Regions from separate parts of the Homo sapiens genome. Here region 2 is linked to region 1. Evidence: promoter capture Hi-C in human tissues and cell types (Jung and others, 2019). All regions are on one chromosome and are shown on one strand. The core of a region is centred on a gene start or on the middle of the fragment in contact, and the rest is flanking DNA. Distances in the headings are between cores, read along the strand shown. Region 1 holds the start of GABARAPL2 (GABA type A receptor associated protein like 2). Region 2 overlaps ZFP1 (ZFP1 zinc finger protein).

The links. The method cuts DNA at HindIII sites, captures the fragments that hold promoters and counts their contacts. A contact is called where the count stands out against the background at its distance.
Region 2: a contact is called between a fragment that was not itself captured here and the fragment with the promoter of GABARAPL2 in region 1, in 1 of the 25 tissues and cell types used here (mesenchymal stem cells).

What each region holds. Positions count from the first base shown.
Region 1 is chr16:75,564,911-75,569,475 of GRCh38, reverse strand. It overlaps GABARAPL2 (GABA type A receptor associated protein like 2), which reads right to left and starts at 3,097. Exons shown (of 4, transcript NM_007285.7): 1 at 2,956-3,097; 2 at 2,569-2,624; 3 at 1,267-1,439. The coding sequence starts at 2,989. RefSeq lists enhancers at 1-81, 1,882-2,635 and a silencer at 2,625-3,034. The HindIII fragment of the contact is 9,271 bases long and covers 1-4,565 here.
Region 2 is chr16:75,169,250-75,173,991 of GRCh38, reverse strand. ZFP1 (ZFP1 zinc finger protein) reads right to left here. Exons shown (of 4, transcript NM_153688.4): 4 at 1,758-4,739. The coding sequence ends at 3,658. Among named protein-coding and RNA genes, the nearest start is that of ZFP1, 23 kb to the right of the region's middle. The HindIII fragment of the contact is 4,139 bases long and covers 546-4,684 here.

The sequences.
Region 1 (4,565 bases), core at 1,848-4,347:
TTCCTCCCCTGGTGAAGACACAGCCCAGAGGCCTGGGAAGGAAGGTTAGAAGAGCCCCATGGGTGACAAGATCTCCTCAAGCAACACCACAGCTTCCAGAGCTACAGCTGTGGCAGACCAATGGCGTCCAGTGGGCAGGCCCTGGGGTGTCTCCTCAGGTTGAATACTGGCCTTAGGGAAGGAGCTTCCATTTCTCCCCTGCCTTTCTATCAGACACCAGGAAGTAGAGGTGGAGGACACTGGGAAAGAGGAAATCAGACCAAAAAATGGCCAGAGCTTTCCACCTTTAACAGAAATAAGGTCTGGAATTTGGCACAGGCCTCTTCTGGAGTCTTCAAGGATTTTCAACAGGAACCTATTTGGACAACATTGGGCTAGTTCCCAGGGCTTCTGAGAGCCTTCACTTTTAGAAGTATTACTTCTGGGAGTGGTAAATGAAACCTAGATTGGGTCACAAAGATAAGATGTGGCCAGAAACTCACACTCAGGGGAGAGGTGGGGGCTGGAATCTGGATCAGGGCCTACAACTACCCACTCAGTAACGGGAAAGGACTGACCAGGAGGTTAGACGGAGCCCATCCACTTTCCTTTTTCCACAGGGGACTAAAGCTGGGCTGTCAAACACACAGAAAACGGGAATTCTAATGCCTCTGCCTACATTCAGGCCACAAGTTACAGTCCCAAAGATTGCTTCCAGGCAGCACAATAGTCTGACAGTCAAAGCAAGTGCTACCAAGGGAGGTATAAGTCTGTAAAGAGACTTCAGAGCCCTTTACTGTGCCGCAGTCATTTTGTCAGACTTGAGGATCAGGCAGCTATAGACTCTTACAATGTCAAAGAGTTGACCAAGTTTGGGAGCAAGCAAACTGGATGATTAACTGAGTGAGCCTCAGCAGGGCCCACAGGCTCCCAGTGGAGGAGCATGCCAGGACTGCCTTCAGGGAAGAAAACCTCATTTCAGGCCTCAGTTCTACCTATAGCTTAAGACTAAATAAGTTCTCAACCGTTTTAAAAGATTCTTGGAGATCTTAGGCTGAGTTTCATCATTTTTTTAAAAGTCCAGGCCTTGTTCTATTTTCTGAATCCAAAATGCACTCTTATGTATTGCAGCCATTATTTTCCTGGAGCCCCTGATGTCAGGGAGCATAAAATCCAGATTTCTAGTCAGGACCCCTAAGAGTTTTCAGACTTCCAAAGTTTTGGAGTTCCGTAAGCAGCCAACCAGATGTCTAATACCAGAGGGCCCATCTAGTAAACACCTCTCACCTGGACTGTGGGACTGTCTTATCCACAAACAGGAAGATCGCCTTTTCAGAAGGAAGCTGGATCCTTTTCCTGATGATCCACATGAACTGAGCCACAGTGATATCAGATGGAACCAAGTACTTCCGTTTGTCAATGTCAACAATCTGAGAGCCTGAGACCTTTTCCACAATCACCTGGGAAAGTAAAGAGAGGTCAGGACTGTGTTTCCTAAAGCGAGGCTCTGGCCTCACATGGCTGAGGAGCTGATGAACAGAGTGTGGGCAAGGAGGTGGGTGGGGAACTGCATAGCAGGAGAAAATATGTCTTTGGCTTAATAAACCACACGCTCTGGAGGTTAAGAATTGATATAAATGTGTTACAGGGAAACAGTAAGTGCTTTTCTGTGGTCAATTATGTAAGAGAAATGCAGCCCTTACCACTAAGCTTTTCCACATTTTATCTGGGCAGACCTAAGAATATCTGGGGAGGGTTTCATCCATGGCCCGTTACTCCAGGACCCCAGAATGGATCCACCTTCACACTACAGGAAACACTACTGTGTTCCCAAGGAACACAGGAGACAAGAATGGATGGACTAATTGGAATGCCTGGAATTTTAGCCAGCCAAGAACCAAGTTCTTCATTTGGCCTGTTGCTCCTCTCTGAACAAGTTTCAAATCCGTCCCTCCTACTCCTTTCCCCAGACAAATTATTCACAAGCAAAGAGCTACAATAACAGGCCTTAATGTCCATTAAAAATTAATAACGATTACAAAACTATCTCCCCAACCATGGAAGAAATATAACATTATATTTATTATTGACTAAGAAGAAAATATGGCAGAAGGGGTTTTCAGCGGCTTTTCACATTATTTTGGTCAGGCAAGGATGACAGGGTCAAGGTGAGATAACGGAGCTAGAAGTTAGGTAAAGATGGAGACAAAGTAAAAGATGAACGTCCTGAGACTCAAGTACCACTTCCAAGACCAAAATGACAGTCTCCCTCCACCACCATTCCCAAAAGTGGCAGTGACCTGTTGCCCTGTCCTAGAACATCGTTCCTTACATAATTGGCCAGGGAGCCCCGAGGCTGCAGACGGCTCGCTGGCCTAGATCGGGAGATTCAGCACTGAGGCACCCTGAACAGCACCAGCCCGAGCCCCTCACGCCCCGGCCCTGGGCGGCCTCATCCCGGTCTGGCCCGTCAGCTACTGTAACTGGGACTGGAACCTCAACTTGTCAACTGTTGAATGGCCTGGGGCCTATCACGGGTCCCAGACGACAGAGGTGACAGCGAGGTGAGGGGGCGGAGAGTCCACTCACCGGAACCCTGTCGGGATATTTCGCTCGAATCTTCGCGGACTCCACGCATCTGTGTTCTGTGGGAGAAACAAACGGGGCTGACGGCCGCGCCTGCCCACCGGTCGGTTCCCGGCCCCCGGCCCTCCTCCTCCTGCGCCCTGCGTACAACCCAGGCCCTGGTTCCGGCGTCCCCGGGGCCGCGGTCCTGTCCCCTACTAGCTCCCAGCAAGGCCCGCGGAGGGTGACATGGGGTCAGGGGGCCGCTGCCCGAGGCACCAGGGCATGGGCGACTCCAGCCCGCAGCAGGGCATCCGCCCCGCTCCACTCGGCCCAGGGCCGCCCGAGTGGGGGAGGGGGCCCACCCGCCGCCCCAGCCCCCAGCAGCCGGGCCGACGACCAAGTGCTTACCCAGCGAGTGGTCCTCCTTGAACATCCACTTCATGGCGGCGGCGGGAAGGGGACGGAACCGGCTCGCGGAGCCGCGGAGCTCAGCGCACCGAGCACAACAACAACGACGGCGGCAGCGGCAGCGGCAGCGACGGCGGCGACTACACGGCAGGCGGGACTTCCGGCTGTCGGAGCCTAGCAACCGGCCGGGGGCGGGGCTTCCGGCGCCATTTGTCAGGGCGCCACGCCAAGGGGCGGGGCCGCACGTAAAGGGGCGGGGCCGCGGAGGACCCCTTTGGGGGCTCCTGGGCTGCGGTGGCGAAGAAGTTGGTTATGGGGACGTCTGTGAGCAGTATCTGCGACATTGCTCGCAGGAATGTTCGGGGAACTGGTGACAGGAGTGGGGTCTCGGGAGCGTTGGTGGCGGAAAACGTCTGGCTGATAGTGTAGGGCTCTTACTGAGGGCTGTTTGGGGGTGTGGCTGATAGCTGAGGGCTCTTAGAGCGGTTCATAGGGGAAGTCTGGGGAATTGGTGACAAGAACGGTCTTTAGGGGTAAGAATGACATAAGGAGGGCTTTCTAGAGCTTGGCGATAACAAGGGAGCTGTTTAGGGCGTTGACAGTTTGGGGAGTATTGCTCGGAGTGGTGACAGGTTGGGGGCTCATTATGGGAGGGGAGGGTGTTTGAGGACACTGTTGGAAGCGGCACTGAGGACAACCCGGAGGTCCGTATTAGGGACAGCCGTAGTAGGTTGTCTTGGACCTAGAAATTGAATTTAAACAAATCCCGTTTTCTTCCTTTATTCGTGAATAAATATTTGAATAAACATTTACGAAAAGGTATCACAAATGCACATTTGAGGCGGGGTACGGTGGCTCACGCCTGTAATCCCAACACTTTGGGAGGCCGACGCGGGTGGATCACCTGAGGTCAGGAGTTGAAGACCAGCCTGGCCAACATGGTGAAACCCCGTCTCTACTAAAAATACAAAAATTAGCCAGGCATGGTAGTGGGCGCCTGTAGTCCCAGCTCCTCGGGAGGCTGAGGCAGGAGAATCGTTTGAACCAGGGAGGTGGAGGTGGCAGTGAGCCGAGATCACACCACTGCACTCCAGCCTGGGCAACAGAGCAAGACTCCGCCTCAAAAAAAAATGCACATTTGAGGAGTGTAACATCACTGATCACAGACCCCTTAATTTTAACTGGCAGAGGAGTTAGAGGTGACTGTCAGACTCGGAGAATTCCCCTGAGAGCTGGTCATGAGATGGGTTTCCTTATTTGGCTGTGGGAGTGGTTTAGCAATCACAGCCTGAGCTGTGTGTGTGTCACCTGCCCGGACATATGCTTTGAGGTTCTCCAATCAGTGATGTAATGCCTTTTTTCCAAGCAGACTCATCAAGGCAGTCTGGTCTGGGTCACCATCTGTTTATAAGCTGCTGAACATGTAGCAGGAATATTCACTTAATTGGGCACATGAACCCTGCCACGTGCTTGTGATTCTGATGCACCTGTAAAGCCTGTATGTTTGAATGTGGTAGTTCATCATTTCCTACACTGGAAATTCCTGATCGATGCTGTGGAATCTAGCTTCATTCTATAAGTATTTTTGTTATTTTAAGACTGTGTGTCTG
Region 2 (4,742 bases), core at 1,366-3,865, 400 kb after region 1:
AGAACACTCACAAGCTCTAGCATCTTCTCTGCCCACGCTCTGCCTTCCTCCTGGTTGGTGCTCCAGCGTCTGACCTCTTCACTAGTACCCTGGATCCCAGTGTCTTCACCTGCTCAGGCTCTGCTCTAGTCCATTCTCCTCCTCCTCTTCTCGTACAGCGTCAATTTTTCTACTTATCGTTCCCATGAGTATATAAATTTATCCTAGAATTTCTAATATTTTAAAACACCAAAATCCTCAAAAGCCCCCATCTCTTCAGTTACCCATCCGTTTCTCTGTGTTGGGAGACAATTCTCCATGGGTTTCTCACGTTTCTCACTATCTTACAAGTACATATGGTGATGGCTTTTGTTACAGGCTGTTTTCAGGATGAATAGCCTTAGATAGGTAATCCGTTCTCCAGAGCAACAGTTTGTTTAGCATCCAGTATAATATGTCTTCCTTCTAGACAAAGGTTTGATAGATTTACTTCTAGACCACTGTTTAAGATTCAGGCTCCCTAAACTTGGACCTCCCCTCCTGTAACTCCACCCAGCAAATGTGTATTCGAGGTCAGTACAGTATGTCTTCTGCCAGTATCCATGAAACTGGTAGCTTAACTTGTTACCTTGCAAGTAGGACAAAATCTCAGACTTTTCAGTCCTTAACACTTGGCCCCTTATTCACAGCTCCTGTTTCCAAGTTTATCTTGAATCCTCCTAGATTTACCCTGACCACTCCTTTATAACTGTTTTTTTCAAAATGACCTCACTGATGGTTAATCTCAGCATATATCCAACTTCATACAAATTATTAGTATTTGATATAGTGGCCACTCTTCTACTTCAAAATAAGTGTTTTCAGCTGGCTTCAGATACCACCCTCTACTGGTTTTCACCCTAACCCTGGTGGTTCCTTCTCAGTTTCATTTGCCAGTTCCTGCCCAGCAAACACTGGGGTGAGTGCTCGGGGCTCAGTCCTTGACATTCTTTATACTTTTTTTTCCTAGGTAATCTCACCTAGCTTTATGGCTTAAAATATTATCCCTGTGACAACTCCCAAATTTTTATTTCCTCTGAAATTGGGCTTCAGAGTCAGTCATCTTACCTCTAAACGCATAAGAGGCATGAGACAAACAGTTGCCACTTGGAATGACCATAGGGGAAGAAGGGTCCTTCTGGGAAAGCCTCATTACAGTCGGACCAGCAAGGCTGAAACTGAGATGGGAGATTTGCTGATTGTGCTGTTTCCCCTCCTGGTCCATCCTCCATCTTTCTACCCTGCTTTATCCCAGGAGGACGGCATCACCCGGGCTTCTGATTAGGTTCAGTTGATGGAGGCATCTTCAGGAGACAGCAATAAAGAGCTGAGGCTTTTCCCCCTCTGCTCCCTTTCCTGACAGTTCTGTGTTTCTCACAGTAGCTGCATCTTTGTAGAGCTTCAACATCCACTTAAGAGACACTCTTCCTTTTTATTTTTCTATCTCCTACAGGAAAGAGACCTTCCAACATTTTGGCTCTCACTGGGCTCTGAAACACCATTTCTTCCTTTGGTCCCTAGGGAGACAACAGCTTCTTGGCACTGCTGGTCTCTGGATTCCTTACCATCCGTTGTTTGTTCCCTTAATCCTTCTCTCATTCTCCAAGTCATCCTTTCATAAGGCGCTAATTCAGTTTACTGCTAAAGCCCTCACTGATAAAGCTGGTGAGGTCCACAGGTTAAAAATGGAAGGAATTCTATTCACCAGGCCCATAAAATCATATACAAAGACACACATATATAAGGGTTTATCTTTATTTTATAAAAACTGCTACACACACACATACACTCTCTCTCTCCCCTCTTGCTTTCCTCATTTGACCTAGAGAAGTTTGGAGTTTGTTCCCACACATTCTTTTCAAGGAAATACCATTCAGCCATGGTATGTTTTTACCACAATTTATTCATCCATTCCCTTACTGATGGTCTTTTTTTTGTTTGTTTTTTTGGTCCTTACCAAAAAATACAATATACATTAGTAAACATATAATCTTAAGTGCTGGCGCTTTTTATTCCTTAGGGATAGATTCCCAGGAGATTCCTAGGTTGTAAGAGTATATTAATGTTAAAACAGACTCACAATGTTGTCCAAGGAGGCTGTTACAATTTACATTTCTAAAAGCAGCTATGAAAATAACGTTTTCCCCTCCTTTGTGAGTAAGTAAGATGACAACTTAGACAAAAGCTTATTGGGCTATGGATGTTCTGGATAAATTTGTTCAGAAAGTCACTCAATATATAGTGTGACAGCACATCAATGATATCCAAAAATATTTTTTAAAAGCCAGTTTTTGGTTGCCATTTATAATTTCCAATACATGATTTGTGATTGATAGGGAAAGGCTGAACTTAAGAATTTGAAATCAAGTCTATAAAAGCAAATCTTTGAGTTACACAACAATTCTTGTTAATATCTGGAGAGACCACTGAAAAATCTGATTTTTATAAAAGTGTAAACATGTAAAGGAAAAGTAATAACTTATAACTCATGTTCCAAAGGGAAATGTTTTAGGTTGGCAACAGCAAAACTCAAGGAAGTAGAAATGCCTCCTTTAAACAACAAAATAGTGTAAAAATTTACTTCTAAAGGGGGTTATGCACGTGAAAAATTTAAAAAGCAATGAAACAGTTGACAGTTATTTAAAATAATTTTTCCTCTAAAGTCTCTGAAATGTAACATTTGTGAACTACAGAAGCATCCTACCATTTTTGCTAGACAATTCATGAAATATTAAGGGAAACAAGGAAAGACAAAAACAGGTGGTTTCTGTCTGTGTTACACAATATTTTGGTAACAGACATGCATTTGTATGCAAATATCCCACGGGAAAATAAGAGCATGACGAATGGGGATATTGTCTTTACACGGCAAACTCTTATTCTGTGGTGCATACTGAGTAGTACAGCTCATGTCTGCCTCCTTCACGTTATAGATCGGTTATTTCACATTTGCATATTTGTGTAAATAGTGCTTCTAGAAAATCTTCAGCAAACCAGAAGCAGGGAAAACTTCAACACTGTCTTCTGTTTCCTAAGAGGCAGCTCAAGAACAATGTTCATACCAACTGATATATGCCAGCAAGCAGTAGGGAAAGACGTAGGTTCCATGCTACTTTAAATGTTACACATTTCATTTGGAATGCATACTGGATTGCAGAGATACTGAAAAACACATGTGATGTTTAGTATGGAAAATCTTGTTATGTCCTAATTATCACAGAGGACAAGAATTTCAAATTCCCAGTGATTATGCTAAATTCACATGTGCAGATCTAAAGCATACCACTTGTGTTTTGTGGCATATCCACATAAAACCACTAAATTCATAGGATACTGTTTGTATATTTCTTATGCTGCTGTCTAGAATACTCAATTCATTCAAGATTTTAAAAAGCTCATTGTAGTACAACTGGGTATGGCTATTTACAACTGGATATATTCTGATATGTATTCTTTAGCTGGGTATCACATGTAACTTCCAGTATAATGTTCTCATGGGATCCTATTTTTAATACATTTTTGAGTTGAGAGATTGCATCTCAGTATGAATTCCCATGTTCCCTCAATACTGTCATGAGGTTTTTCACCCGCTTGAAGAGTTCTGGCAGGAGTTTTCCACAGTAAGACCTGGCTGGAGTTTCAGGGTTTCTCCCCGATGTGAACTCTCTGATGGACACTGAGTCGGGACTTCCTGCTAAAGGCCTTCCCACATTCGGAACACTCATATGGTTTCTCTCCTGTGTGGATTCGCAAGTGTAATCTAAGAGTTGACCTCTGGCTGAAAGTTTTGCCGCACTCAGTACATTCATAGGGTTTCTCTCCTGTATGAGTTCTCATGTGTATGATGAGCTGTGAGTTCTGGATAAAGGATTTTCCACATTCACTGCACTCATAGCGTTTCTCCCCCGTGTGAATCTTCTGATGTATGATAAGGTTTGACTTCTTAAAGAAGGTTTTTGCACATTCGTTACACTCATAGGGTCGCTCTCCTGTATGAATTCTCTGGTGTGTGGTGAGTTCAAACTTTTGGGCAAATGTCTTTCCACATTCACTGCACTCATAGGGCTTCTTCTCCATATGTGCTCTCTGGTGTACAATGAGGTTTGACTGGTGGGTGAAAGCTTTTCCACATTCCGGACACTCGAAAGGTTTCTCCCCAGTGTGAATTCTCTGATGTTTGATGAGGTTGGCCTTATGGGAGAAGGTTTTCTTACATACATTGCATTCATATGGCTTTTCTCCAGTATGTATTCTCTTATGACTAATGAGGAGTGACTTAAAGGAGAAAGCCTTGTCACAGTAAGTACAAATGAAAGGTTGAACCAAGTTTTTTATTTTCTGATGTTTAAAAATGGCTGCTTTATGGCTGAGGGCTTTTCCACTTTTATTGTATTCAGAATATTCTACTCCACTGTGGGTTTTCTCTTGCTTCAGGTAGAGAAGTGCTTTTCCAAATTCATTACACTCATCAGTCTGCTTTCCTGCATAGCTTCTATTACTATTAAGCAAGTCTGAATTATATTTCAAAGTTTTTTCATATAAGTCATATTTATAAGGTACTTGTCTTAAAGAAACAAAGTCTGTGTTCAGATTAAGTGCTTTTCCAAAGAGATCGCCTCTTTCCTCAATTGGGGTTTGGTTCTTAAGAATTAAAAATTGCCTCGCCTGCTCGTCTGGGTTTCTGTGGTCTCTCTCCATCTGGTCATCAGCCTTCCACACTTCTA